Regions from separate parts of the Homo sapiens genome. Here region 1 is linked to region 2. The links are contacts of gene promoters, found by promoter capture Hi-C in human tissues and cell types (Jung and others, 2019). All regions are on one chromosome and are shown on one strand. Each heading gives the region's core, a stretch centred on a gene start or on the middle of the fragment in contact. The rest is flanking DNA. Distances are from core to core; before and after follow the strand shown. Region 1 holds the start of LOC124904877 (a long non-coding RNA gene). Region 2 holds the start of DTD1 (D-aminoacyl-tRNA deacylase 1).

The links. Contacts are between HindIII fragments. The study calls those that stand out against the background at their distance.
Region 1: a contact is called between a fragment that was not itself captured here and the fragment with the promoter of DTD1 in region 2, in 1 of the 25 tissues and cell types used here (liver).

What each region holds. Positions count from the first base shown.
Region 1 is chr20:18,387,870-18,395,201 of GRCh38, reverse strand. DZANK1 (double zinc ribbon and ankyrin repeat domains 1) reads left to right here. Exons shown (of 21, transcript NM_001367614.1): 16 at 852-948; 17 at 1,391-1,491; 18 at 4,743-4,823; 19 at 5,374-5,501. It overlaps LOC124904877 (a long non-coding RNA gene), which reads right to left and starts at 5,378. Exons shown (of 2, transcript XR_007067546.1): 1 at 5,184-5,378. RefSeq lists an enhancer at 5,078-6,277. The HindIII fragment of the contact is 3,303 bases long and covers 345-3,647 here.
Region 2 is chr20:18,583,355-18,589,857 of GRCh38, reverse strand. DTD1 (D-aminoacyl-tRNA deacylase 1) reads right to left here and starts at 1,804. Exons shown (of 6, transcript NM_080820.6): 1 at 1,743-1,804. The coding sequence starts at 1,785. It overlaps LOC124904878 (a long non-coding RNA gene), which reads left to right and starts at 2,393. Exons shown (of 3, transcript XR_007067547.1): 1 at 2,393-2,433; 2 at 5,614-5,745. RefSeq lists enhancers at 1,268-1,327, 1,168-1,667, 4,339-4,633 and a silencer at 1,438-1,977. The HindIII fragment of the contact is 3,504 bases long and covers 609-4,112 here.

The DNA.
Region 1 (7,332 bases), core at 747-3,246, 190 kb after region 2:
TTTAGTAGAGATGGGGTTTCACCATGTTGGCCAGGCTGGTCTCGAACTCCTGGCCTCAAGTGATCACCTGCCTCAGCCTCCCAAAGTGCTGGGATTACAGAAGTGAGCCACTGCACCTGGGCCCTAGGTTTAATAAATCTTTTGTTAGCCTGCATGTTCTAGTGTTCAGGAAGTAGCAGGCTCTTCCCTGGGACAGGAGCAGGCAGCCACGTGAGGGTGCAGGGGGATCAGTCCGGGTGCACACAGACTTCTGTGTCTGGCCTCATTATGTAGACGCCCATTTTACTGCATTTTGCTTTCACGACATGCCATTGAGGTAGGTCATATTATTTCCACTTTCCAGGTGAGGAAACTGAGGCTCAGAGAAGTTAAGCAACCTGCTTCTTCCAAGGGCACTAAGTTAGTAAGTGGCAGACCCAGGATTCACACTTGGCAGCCTGAGACCTTCCCATCATGACACCCTAATTCCAAGACATTGAAGGACTTTAAGCAGAGAAATGACACAATCACTTATAAAGGATCTAAAGGTGACTGGGACAGCCACATGCAGGGAGGCTGGCAGACCCCTGTTGAAAGGCTATTGTGATGGTCCCAATGTGAGACGAGGGGGCTGGGGCTTCAGGGAGGGAGAGGAGGAGGGGCCAGACTGAGCCGCGGGTAAGGGGCAGAACGGACAAAGCATGCTGGGGAGGTGAGGAGGAGTCAGGAAGGACATCCAGGTCTCAGGCTCCACTCTCTGGGTAGGTAGAGCTGTACTTAATAAGGAGGAGCAGGTTAGAAGGGAGATCCTTCTTTCTAGTGGGACAAAGCAGCCTCATCATTCATGGTGTTTAAATGTTTTCATTGGCCAGAACCTTTACCTGAACAAGGCAGTGAATTTCAGCGATCACCTTCTGAGCAGTGCTGCCGAGGGTGATGGGGGGCTGTGCGGCAGCAGGTCCAGCTGGGGTGAGTTATTCCCTTCTGGCAATTTTAAAACAACTGACCAGGAACACATGGACTTGGCAGGTATAGCAGAGAACTGCTAAGAGTTTGACAGCCCGGTCACAGATCTTGCAGTTATGTTCCAGACGTTTTATTTCTCTGGCTTCTCTGAAGTCAGAGGTGAGACTTTTGAAGTCCTTTACAGGGCTTGGGGAAATTCATTTGTGGGGTGCACTTTTGGACCTAAAAACCGAAGTCCCTCTTTTCCTCTCCTTCCCACCCTTCCTCTGGTTCCTGGACAGGAGAGTGGCTCCAGGAGTCTCTCCTGCCGGGTTTAATCAAATAGAAATTTCTATGATAGCCATTTTATCCTCTGACTTTTGAGGGACGTGGAAGTAAGAAATAACTGTTTGTGTGGGGAGTTGGGGGAGGGGCATCATTTTTTTCCCCAACTGTGTCATTTCAGTGAGTGACTACAGCCAGAGTACCTCAGATACTATTGAAAAAATCAAAAGGATAAAGAATTTCAAGACCAAAACTTTTCAAGAAAAGAAGGAGCAGCTTATAGTAAGTGTCTTTTTTTGGTCCTTGTGGATGTTGTCTTCAGCCTGTGATTTTCAGGTTTTATTTTGACCTTTTTTAAAATGGAAGAATAATTTCTCATTTTCTGTTCCTTTTTTATGAGGTTTCTCATGGCATCCTTGTCCTTTAGACTTCTTTAAAGTATCTCAAGATTATGAATTAGAGTTATTTCAAAGTTCCCATCAGTTTCCTGAATCATCTCTGTGTTTCCTCTGGGGTCAGTTCTGTCTGCCTATCTTTCGACTTTGGTTTGCCTCAAATATGGAACCTTGGTTGTCTGGTCGTTTGACAAATGAAGACTAGTTGGGTAGTGCAGATGCTGGCCTGGTGCCCAGCATGAGGATGGACCCTGAAGTCCCTGTGTGAGTGGACAGGCATGTCGTGGACAGACGTCCCTGGAGGGAGTGTGGGCAGGGAGCAGGAGAAAGCCTTCAGATCCCCTGTGTTGCTGGTGGAAAAGGTCTTCCTCTGGTGGTGAGGGTGTTGGTGTGTGAAGCGCTCTCACGGGTTTCAGCTTGGGATGAAGCTTTTTTCCTTTCCCTCTACACCCTCCCCTGTGTCTGTCATGGAGGTCTAGGCTCTGCCCTTCTCCTTTCTTGGGCCCCAGTGCACCAAGTAGAAGCCTTTGTTGGGCAAATCTTATGCTTTCTGCGAAATAGTTATCAGGGCAAAGTGCACAAGCCTCCTGCCCTTCTTACATGGGGAAGAAGGGGTAAGGCACTAGCGATCTCAGCTATTCACCACGGAGCCCTTAATAATCTACTCATGCATTCAGGCTACGCCCAACACCTAACCTCCATATGGATTAATTTAAGCTTCTGCAGGGCTCCCCTGGAAAGAAAACACTCCTACCTCTGGTATCTTCAGCTGGATTTTTGTTGGTTTGGTTTGGTTTGGTTTGGTTTGGTTTCCCTGTCAGATTTCATCTACTTTCAGTCTTCTTGGAATTTCTCAAAATTACTAATTCACCGATGGTCAGTACCGTTTTAGAGTTTCCCACATCTTTAGAGTTTTGTGTTTTAAAAATATATGCCAAGAATAGTTCTAAAAGGAGCTTTGGAGAAAAGGGCAGTGGATGCCACCTGCTCCATCCCCAGCCTTGCCTTTTAATTGGTCCTCCTTGGCTGCAATACAAAGAACAGATGTGATTAGCAGCAAGTCCCAAGGCCTGGGCCCGGGTCCGAGCTGGACACTTGCATGATGCCGTGTGCTTCCCTCCATGTGTGGTTCCAAGGCCAGGCCCTCAACGCCGCCTTGTCAGTGCACTAGCTGCCCAGCTTGCCTCCTGATTCCTCTGGAGGCAGGGACTCTGTTCTTTATCTTTTTTTTCTTCCCACCACATGCTTTGTATGTAACAAACACCAGTACATTTGGAAAGAATATGTTAGAATTGTTTCAACTTTTGTATTTTAGGATTTCTTGTACTCACCACCTTCTCCCAGTTTGAAATATTGTTATTGGGTATAAAAGCATAGAGTTCCATAAACTGAACAGCTTACAATTTGGGAGACTCTACCTATTTACTCTGTGTATAACCTGAATCTTCCACTGTATATGGCTTTTTTTTCTCATTTGCACTTAGGGGATAAGTATCAGAAGCTGTAACATTTGTTCACTCATTCAGTGATTATTTTTGAGCACACGTGTACCAGGCACTGTTCTACGTGTTGAAAATAAAACCTAAACAAAAGACGTAAAGGTCTCACACCTCCTGAAGCTGACATGCCTACTGCATTCTAGTACACATTTCCATGAGGAATGGAAATCAGTGTAAACAAGTGCTCCCCAAGACCCCTGCTGGGGGTTTACTGATTAGAGTACTTGGTTCTAAGCTATTCATCAGTAAGATGGGGACAGCGAGAAAGGAGGCAGCACCGCCTGGACCAGGCATCATCTTCTGAAAGGCTCAGAGGCCTTGACCAGTGTCCTCATGGCCATGGCTTCACAGGAGCAAGGACAGGGAAGGTATTATTTCCACTTTACAAATGGAAATGGTGGTCCTGTGACCACCCCACAGCCATGCCCGGGATCCAGAGGCAGAAACATACTAAAAGCAATGTCTCTTGCTTTCTAAACAGCTTCCTTCAGTCTTTCAGCATTTGAAATTCTTTATATATAAAGATGAATTTATGGCATTTAAAAATATAAAAAGATAAGTTACTCAGCCAGGCCCAGTGACTCACGCCTGTAATCCCAGCACTTAGGGAGGCTGAGGCAGGCAGATCATGAGGTCAGGTGATCGAGACCATCCTGGCTAACATGGTGAAACCCCATCTCTATTAAAAATACAAAAAATTAGCCAGGCATAGTGGCATGTGCCTGTAGTCCCAGCTACTCAGGAGGCTGAGACAGGAGAATTGCTGAAACCTATGAGACGGAGGTTGCAGTGAGCCAGGATCGTGCCACTGCATTCCAGCCTGGGTGACAGAGCAAGACTCCATCTCAGAGAAAAAAAAAAGATCTTGAAATTGCTGAGAGCTTTTTCTTTGTTTTGTTTTGTTTTTTGAGACAGAGTCCCACTGTGTTGCCCAGGCTGGAGTGTAGTTGTATGATCTCCGCTCACTGCAACCTCTGCTTCCTGGATTCAAGCGATTCTCCTGCCTTAGCCTCCCAAGTAGCTGGGATTATAGGCAGCTAACACGTGGCTAATTTTTATATTTTCAGTAGAGACACGGTTTCACCATGTTGGCTAGGCTGGTCTCAAACTCCTGACCTCAAATGATCTGCATGCCTTGGCCTCCCAAAGTGCTGGGATTACAGGTGTGAGCTACTATGCCCCTCCTTTTTTTTCTAAAGAAGAAGTCAATTTATTGGCTCATTCGTTCCTCAGGGGAGTATATTTTCTGAACTGTCATACTTTGGCTGACCTTGAACACTTTATAAAGTATGCAAAATAAATTTTAGGATTCACCTGATTGCTTTTCCTAGAGCTCTAGTCATAATAAAACTAGTGTGGAGTTTCTGGGTTTTGTGAGGTTTCTCATGGCATCCTTGTCCTTAATATAAAATAGTGTCCATGCGGTAACCTTGCCTGAAGCAAGGTTTTGGAGCAGCAAGATTGATATTAGATGTGGATATTTGTGCTGTGGGCTATTAAAGACCACTCACACACTCACACATGCACACACTCATAGTCACCTGTCCTTGTGACTTAGAATTCAATGTTGGAAAGAAAGTGTTTGCCTTGAGTGAATATTTTGAAGTGGGGGAAATGACCACATTCTGTAATCCTGCAGCCTGAAAACAGACTCCTGCTGAAGGAAGTCGGACCCACGGGGGAAGGAAGAGTCTCTGTGATTGAACAGCTGCTGGATGAGGTAAGTGTTGCCAAAGGAGCCAGTCTCTCTGAAGAGTTCAGCCTGGCATTCCACCTCTGTCTCCTTCAGATGAAAGTTTTGTTCAATACTGTGAAAATTACACTGCCCTTTGATTAAAAACCCGGGATATAGTGAATGGCTAGTCAAAAGCTTTATATTAATTGTTCCCTGTTGCTAGTTTTTATATCAGAGAAAATAGGCAGAGAAGCACAGATGAGACCAAGGAACATGCATGAAGCTGGATAGAATCTCTGGCCCATGACCCCATATTACCTTTATCCTGGGTTTCCTAAAGAAGCAAGGTTGTCAGGGTGCCTGCCCTCCCCTCCCCGCCCATGTGGGGAACAGAAGTTTTGTCACCTGGGTAACTTTGTAGCTCTGTTCATCGTAGATCAGGTCTTGAGGTTCCTGATTCTCCTCTCCTTTGATCTGAAAGCACTTTAGTTGCATCAGCTCTGTAAAGGACATCTGTTATACTTCATAGGATGGCGACTGGATGCTGTTGAGTGCAGGGTGTTTTGGAGAGTTTGTCCTTTTCCGTTTGCTGCAGGGAGCAGACCCCAACTGCTGTGATGAAGACAATCGACCCGTCATAACCGTGGCTGTTATGAATAAGCACCATGAAGCGATTCCAGTTCTCGTGCAGAGAGGAGCAGACATCGACCAGCAGTGGGGGCCGTAAGTGAAACACATTGAAAGGAGAGCTAAGGTAGCAGCAGGCTGACTGCTTGGAGCTCCACTGCAGCAGAAGCGGTCTACACACACACCCTGTTCAGTTTCAGCCACTTTAACCATTTTAACCTATTTCAGCTTTAATAAGAGGCTTAACGCCTTCTGTTTTCCATAGCTGGGTAAAGCGAAATTTTAAAAATGGACTGTTGGATTGCCTAATTTAGTGGCTTTTATAAATGATGATACATTTTGTTAATTCATAAACTTATACTGTGTGGGGCCAGTAAATCCTTAGCCCTTGGGGTGTTAATCAATGTTTTCATCATGAATCGTGAAAACACCAAGGGAAGACAGACCTTAGTGTATTCCCCATGAAAATATCCCCATGAAGTTAATGCAGAAAGAAAATATCATACGGTTGTCTCCAGATCTCACACCACTGCAGAGGAGACTGGTACATCTGAGGTCACCACATGGTCTCCTGCTGCCTTGCTTTCCCACCCGTGATACAAAACAGAAAGGTACCAAGTCCTGTTACTTACCCTCCCAGTCTTGGTCCACTCCTGTCCAATAACCTTCTCTTCTAGCTGTGTGCTTCTGTTGTTCTTTCAAAAAGTACTTTGAAAATATGGGGTGAAAATTCCTTGAGCATGAGTCATTCATGTTAACTTCTCATATCTTGCCGACTACGTTGTTGAAATGAGTCTTCTAGGGACATCACAGGCATCTAACACTCCTACCTCCTGAAGTCTTACTAAGGCGAGGTCAAGGTCCGTGTCAGTGGAACATTCTGCTGTGTACTTCATGCTACCACGGAGGCCAAAATTTCAGTAGCTTTGCTTCTGTTATTCTCTGTTTCAAAACTGTCTCTAGTGTTAGTGTTCAAAATATAATCCTGTTAATTTTTCTATATGCATTTTACTAATGTCTGCATTTTAATAGCTTCTACCCCCCTTTTGTTAGTTTTATTTTACAGCAGAATGTTTGGTGTGTTGGTGTAAAGCTTCGATGCTTGGAATTTATTTTCTCAAGTTTTCTTAGAGTTTACTGTGTCAACTTATTTATTTATCCCACACTGTTGTATTATTGTCATTATTAATAAAATGGTGCTGCCTTGTTTTGTGTTAAGGCATATTTTATATTTTTATAATTCAGAAAAGCTTTTTAAATAGCATTTAAGTATGTTTGTGGTTGATACAGAAATTACTTGAGCGCATTTTGAATTGAAGTGTAAGCAGCGTGAGTCCTGGCTTTATGAAGAGTCCAGCTAAGAGGAGGAAAGTGCCCTGGGCATTGAACAGATTGCCTTTTTATTTTGCTGTGCCTCAGCTTCCATGTTTGCTTCACCACCATTCTGTAAATTGGCATTTATCCACATGTGATCTCATTGCATGTCTGTAAAGTCTGACACTGCGGTTATACCTGTCTATCTGAATGGTGTGTAATAGCCTTTGTCACCCCCCTGCAGGATCATGGTGACTGTGGGCAGTATGTAGCTCACATGGTTGTGGGGAGGAAAGCTAGAGGGTTGGCCCTCTCTCACGTAGAGCACAGGGATCTCTTCTTCCTTTCCAGTGCATGCCAGTAGAGGAAAGTAGCATTTCCCACTGAGAGCCACATTCTGCCAAGTCTGGTTTATATCTGTTAGTTTCAAGAGTTTGGGCCTGGATCAGCCCAGCCTCTGCCCCATAGCTGGACCTCTGTAGACCCAGGAACATGGCCTCAAAGTTCCATCCATCCTATTGCTTTTAGGCATAAGTCATCCAGAGATCTGGTTTTACTGTAAAAGAGGCTCAGCGAGTTGTTCCTTAGCAAACAAGAATTAAAATGCTGTCTC
Region 2 (6,503 bases), core at 555-3,054:
TTTAATATGCAGGTTTGGTTGTTTTAACTGAAAGCATATAACTTAAATAGTGAACCAAAATAACCCAAACTCTTATTCAGCACATCTCACAGAATACACATTTTCAATATTCCAGATTAGCAGGATGGAGAGTTCAGGAGAGAGATCAAAATTTAAATCTGTCAGTGACGACCACACACAGCAGCAGACTGCAAGGTTCTTCTCAATAATGCAAAACATCTTTCATCTATGAATTTTCCCAGTTTTCATGAATTTAAATATCTACAGAAATGTTATAAAAGCTTTAAAATTCCTAAATCCCAGTGCTACTCTATTCCCTATTATTCCAGGACCATTTCCAAAACCAAAGCTACCAGAACAGCTTAGAAATCATTAGGCGGGGTTGAAAAATAGACTCTTAGATTTAAATATACGGTTTTGGTGGGTTTGGTTGTTTCTTTAGGGTTTTTTGTTGTTTTTGTTTTGTTTTGTTTTTTGTTTTGGGGTTTTGTTTGTTTGTTGTTTTTTGAGACAGAGTCTCGCTCTGTCGCCCAGGCTGGAGGTTACTGGCACAATCTCGGCTCACTGCAACCTCTGCCTCCCGGGTTCAAGCGATTCTCCTACCTCAGCCTCCCGAGTAGCTGGGATTATAGGCACCAACCACCGCTCCCGGCTAATTTTTGTATTTGTAGTAGAGATAGGGTTTCTCTATGTTGGCCAGGCTGGTCTCGAACTCCTGGCCTCAGGTGATCTGCCCGCCTTGGCCTCCCAAAGAGCTGGGATTACAGGTGTGAGCCACAGCCCCCGGCCTGTTTTGTTTTTAATTCATACTTTTGTGGACACAAGAACGCATATTTGGTGCAGACTGGCTCCAAGGACAGGATATCTGAAATTATTTGAACTGAAACAATATAGTTGTGCCAATAAAGACAGAAAAGACTAAAGACAATATAAAGCTTGTCATTTAAATGTTTTTTAAAAAATATCTTTCGTACCGTGGTTTTCTTAAAACGACTACTTTATCTACACTAATCATCTGGACCTCTGATGCCCAACCGAGACGAAAGTGCTGAGTGATGACCAGGGGTCGGGTAGCTTGGTCCACAAGAAAAAGAGAAATGTTTTCATCTTGAATTCTTTAGATCCCGACCCCTCCGCGCAGAGTTCAGCGGGCGAGGGCGAGGGGCGTCCTGGGCAGGGGGCGCCCCTCATCCAGCCTAGGCTCCAGTCACGTACGTGCACGCAACTGTCAAAGCTCAGCCCAAGGAGCAACTCTCCGCATCTGTGCATTTCATCCTGAGTCAAGCCCCATAAAAATTGGAATACGTAAAAATGGGCAAAAATTGAACATTTAAAATACAGCAGTGAAAAGGGAGGAGTGCCTGCTCCGGAAATGCTCTAAGCGTGGTTCATCAACACTCCCTGAAGAGCGGACCACGGAGATGCTCCGAGGCTCCGCCATCCCGCACGCAGGACAAAGGTGCTGAGAATGAGGCGCGCTGGTCCTGCACCCTCTGCCGAGAGCCGGAAGCCAGGGGCGCGCCGGGGCCGGTCGGGCACGTGCAGGGGGCTCTCCGGCCGCCGCGCTGCCCCGAAGCCGGCCCTGGGGACTCGCGGCTGCGCGGACCGAGCTCGCGAAGGGGACCAGGCTCGCGGAGGGGCCGCAGCGGCCCCAAGGATGGCGCAGGAAGACCCCCCACGCAAGACAGCCGGTCGCGGGGGTCAGGGGCGGCTCCTCCCGGGCCCGGCCCCGCCCGACTGACCTGTGACGCTGGCCCGGGTGACGCGCTGCACCACGGCCTTCATGGCGGCGGCTGGGGCGAGTGGGGCGGCGCCGCGCTGCGTCCGGCCTCGCGACTCTGAGGGCGGCTCCGCAGCCGGCGCCCTCTGGAGGTGACACCCGGAAGCGCGCCCAACTGGCCGGTCCGACTCGGTCGGCTGCTACCCACCCCACGTCGGCCACGCCCACTCTCGGCCTGGCGATAGGCCCACCCACTCATAGATTGACTCCGCCTATGCCTGCCACGCCCACCTGCTGCCCAACCGTAACCCCGCCCGTCATTGAAAAGCCCAGTCCCCACGCTCGGCCCTGCCCCATCCACATCTGGGTCCCGCCAGAGCCCTTTGATCCCCCCATCCCGGGCCCAGCCCCTACCCAGTGCCCAGAACCCACTCTGCCCCGAAGGTAGTCTCTATGCTGGTTTTTTTCTCCCACATACCCGAACCTAAGAACCCGTCATCACTAAGCCTTTAAATTCAGCCTGAATCCTATTTCTAATTGTATTCCTCTTTCCTCTTCCACTCCTCTGCACGCAGATCCTCCCAAATTCTTCTTCCTTGTCTTCCTGCCTCAGTGGCTTTTCAGATACCACATACAAAAGGATCTGCTGCCTAAAATAGCCATTTACCTATCTCACTATTAATTCGACTTAGCCATGTCATGATAATAAATAGGTATGTGATTCTAGAATTCTAATTTCTCATGTAATATAAATGCTACTAATTGGCCCCCTCACTGGGTTGTTAGATTTAAATGAACCAAACCACGTAAAAGTGCTTAGATGGCAGCAAAGGGCTGTACAACTATTACCCCAACAAATTATTATCATTGCTAAAAATAATTCCATCTCAGCAGTCTTCACCTTAAAGGTGACTAATAGCATTGGTGGGCGTAGAAAAGGCACTGAAATTGAGAAGAAACCCTCACTTGCCCAGAAAAGACTACAAACTAGTGTGCTTGTTTGTTAAATACTGAATACTAAATTGCCTTAATAACGTTGTCAAAGTTAACATAACCAGTAACAAGACATCATGTGCCTCCTGATATTGCACTGGGAAGGACACAACATCAATCTTGTGGTATTTCTGCCAAATAATGTATAACCTGAATCCAATCATGATGAAACATAGGACAAAAATAAATTGAGGAACATTCTACAAAATAACCAGGTAGGATTCCGAGAATTAAGGAGGATTTTTTTTTTTTTTTTTTTTGAGATGCAGTTTTGCTCTTGTGGCCCAGGCTGAAGTGCAATGGTGTGATCTTGGCTATCCACAACTTCTGCCTCCTGGGTTCAAGCAATTCTTCTGCCTCAACCTCCTGAGTAGCTGGGATTACAAGCATGCGCCGCCACGCCCGGCTAATTTTGTATTTTTATTAAAGATGAGATTTCTCCATGTTGGTCAGGCTGGTCTCGAACTCCCGACCTCAGGTGATCTGCCCGCTTTGGCCTCCCAAAGTGCTGGGATTACAGGCATGAGCCACTGCGCCCAGCCGTGGACTTTTTAAAAGACAGGAAAACTACCTGTAATCCCAGCACTTTGGGAGGTCAAGGTGGGCGGATCATTGGAGGTCAGGAGTTCGAGGCCTGCCTGGCCAACATGGTGAAACCCCGTCTCTACTAAAAATACAAAAATTAGCCAGGCATGGCAGCGCATGCCTGTAATCCCAGCTACTCGGGAGGCTGAGGCAAGAAAATTGCTTGAACCCGGGAGGCGGAGGTTACGGTGAGCCGATATCGTGCCACTGCACTCCAGCCTGGGTGACAAAGCAAGACTCTGTCTCAAAAAAAAAAAAAAAAAAAAAAAAGACAGGAAAACTAAATTAACCTGGGTGGTATCCTGGCCAGAAAAATCAAGAAAAGGAAAAGCTTATTATTGGAACAACTGGTAAAATTTGAGTTTTTGAAAAATCAGCAGGTCTCAATATTTTGATCACAGGATCCCTTTACATTCTTAAAAATTATTGGGCACAAAGTATAGCTTTTGTTTAGGTGGATTATATCTAAAAATGTTTACTGTTTTTAACTAAGAGAAATAGTTAACATGGATTTATCAATGCATTTAAAAATAGCAATAATAAATCCCCTACATATGAATATCAGAGCAATGAAGTCACTATATGTCACGGAGCCCCTGGAAAACTCCATTGTGCACTCCTGAAAGAATAAGACTAAAAAAGGGAAAATTGGGCTGGTCGTGGTGGTTCACGCCTGTAATTCCAGCACTTTGGGAGGCTGAGGCAGGTGGATCACTTGAGGTCAGGAGTTCAAGACCAGCCTGGCCAACATGGTGAAACCCCATCTCTACTAAAAATACAAAAATTAGCCAGGCGTGATGGTGGGCACCTATAATCCCAGCTACTTGGGAGGCTGAGGCACAGGAATCACTTGAAACCGAGAGGCGGAGGTTGCAGTGAGCCAGGATCACTGCCACTGCACTCCAGCCTGGGTGACAAAGTAAACCTGTGTCTCAAAAAAAAAAAAAAAAGTTAACATACTTAAAATGGAATTCAAAATGTTCACCCCTATGGTACAATAAAGACTTTGGCCTTTGTTAATTCTGGGTTTCTGGCATGGAGCTTTAAAAATTCTTGGAATTTCTCAAGAGACAGGAGTATCTTTGTTATTCATGAGCTCCTTGATTATTCCTGAGTTTACTAACAAGACAATTCAGATTGGGAGCTGGTCACTGGAAAGACCAATAGTGACTGGATGTCTGAGCCAGCCCAACCTGTGGGAGGGGTAGAAGACAGAGATTGAGTTCAACCTGTGGCCAATGATTCAATCAGTCATGCTTACATGATGAAATCCCAGGAAAGACTCTGGACATTGAAGCTTCATTGAGCTTCCTGGTTGCTGAACACATTGATGTGCTGGGAGGGTAATGGCCCTGATTCCGCAGGGAGAAAGCACAGAGGCTCTGTGTTTGGTACTCTCGCAGACCTTGCCTAACATATCTCATTTGACTGGTCCTAATTTGTATTATTTATAATAAAACTATAAATGATAATTACAGCACTTTCCTCAGTTCCATGAGTGATTCTAGTGCATTATCAACCCTAGGGAGTCATGGATACTCCTGACTGTGTAGCCAGTTGGTCTGAAGTGCAAGTGGTTTGGGGACACCCAAGTGTGGTTGGCACCTGAAATAGGGGCAATCTTTTTGGGAAACGTACCCTTAAACTTGCAGGATCTGTTCTAACTCCAGGTGATTCCTGCCAGAGTTGAACTGCAATTCACCAGTTGGTGTTCAATGAACCCCGAAGCCCTTCATACTCCACCATAAGAGTCATACCTTTTTTTTTTTTTTTTTTTTTGGAGACAGAGTCTCGCTCTGTCACCCAGGCTGGAGTGCAATGGCTCGTTCTGGCTCACTGCAACCTCCACCTTCCAGGCTCAAGTGATTCTCCTGCCTCAGACTTCTGAGTAGCTGGGATTACAGGTGCTGCCACCATGCCCAGCTAATTTTTGTATTTTTAGTAGAGATGGGGTTTCACCATGTTGGCCAGGCTGTTCTCAAACTCCTCACCTCAAGTAATCCGCCTGCCGTGGCCTCCCAAAGTGCTGGGATTACAGGCATGGGCCATCGCACCTGGAAAATCCCCACTTAAATAAGTGGCTCCACTTGTTTACTGGAGCCAGAAGTAACCTGTGATTGCTCTCTTCCCCATTCCCTAAGTATCTCGTCCATCAGCAAATCTTCTCCCTCTCCAAAACCTATCCCAAAGTGCCCTCTTCTCTCCATCCCTCCTGCAGCATCCTGCTCCACCATTCTTTCCCACTTGGATTTCTACCACACCTTCCTCACTGGTCTTCCTACCTCCCCTTTGTCCTTCTCCAATCCATTCTCCAGGCACAGATGAAAGTGATGCTCTTAGAATATAAAGTCTTAACAATCCAGACTCTGACCACCTTTAAATTCCTCAAATAGTCTTTGGTTGCTAGCTCAGGACTTTAGGATCTGCTCTTGCTCCACCTGGAACAGGTAGGTTCCTCTACATTCATTCACTCTTTGTACAACACACTCCTCTCCTGCCTTTAGGTATTCAGCTTCAATGCCACCTCCTCAGATAGACCTTCTCTGTCCACACCAAGAAAAGTAGGTGTTCCTGCTCCCTGTTTTTCTCATGTTTGTCCTGTGGGTTTTCTCTCATAATCTTCTGGCTACTTTCAATGAGTCTATTTGCCTGGTAAGCTGTGTTCTTCTACCTGTGTCTCTCATGCTTACCACTGAATCCTCAGCATCTAACACAGTACCTGGGGCTCAGGTAATATTGCCAAAGGAATAAGTGTGAGAAGCCAATTTTTTGGCTTAACAGTGTATCATGGATTTACAGTATTTCTCTATTAATAGATGTGCAGATGCTAAGAGCTAATATATGCATTGTAATTCCCCTAAACAATTTTTTCTATTGACGAATATTTAGGTCTGGATCAGTTGGGATGTTTTTTCGTTGCATGGAACTCAAAATGGCTCAAACTTTTAAGAAATGTGTTATTTCCGAGTAGCTGGGCCTACAGGCGCCTGCCACCATGCCCTGCTAAGGCAGGAGAATGGCGTGAACCCAGGAGGCGGAGTTTGCAGTGAGCCGAGATCATGCCACTGCACTCCAGCCTGAGCAACAGAGTGAGACTCCATTTCAAAAAAAGAAATGTGTTATTTCATTGGAACCTTTGTGCACTTTTTTTTTTTTTTTTTTAGATGGAGTCTCGCTCTGTCACCCAGGCTGGAGTGCAGCGGCA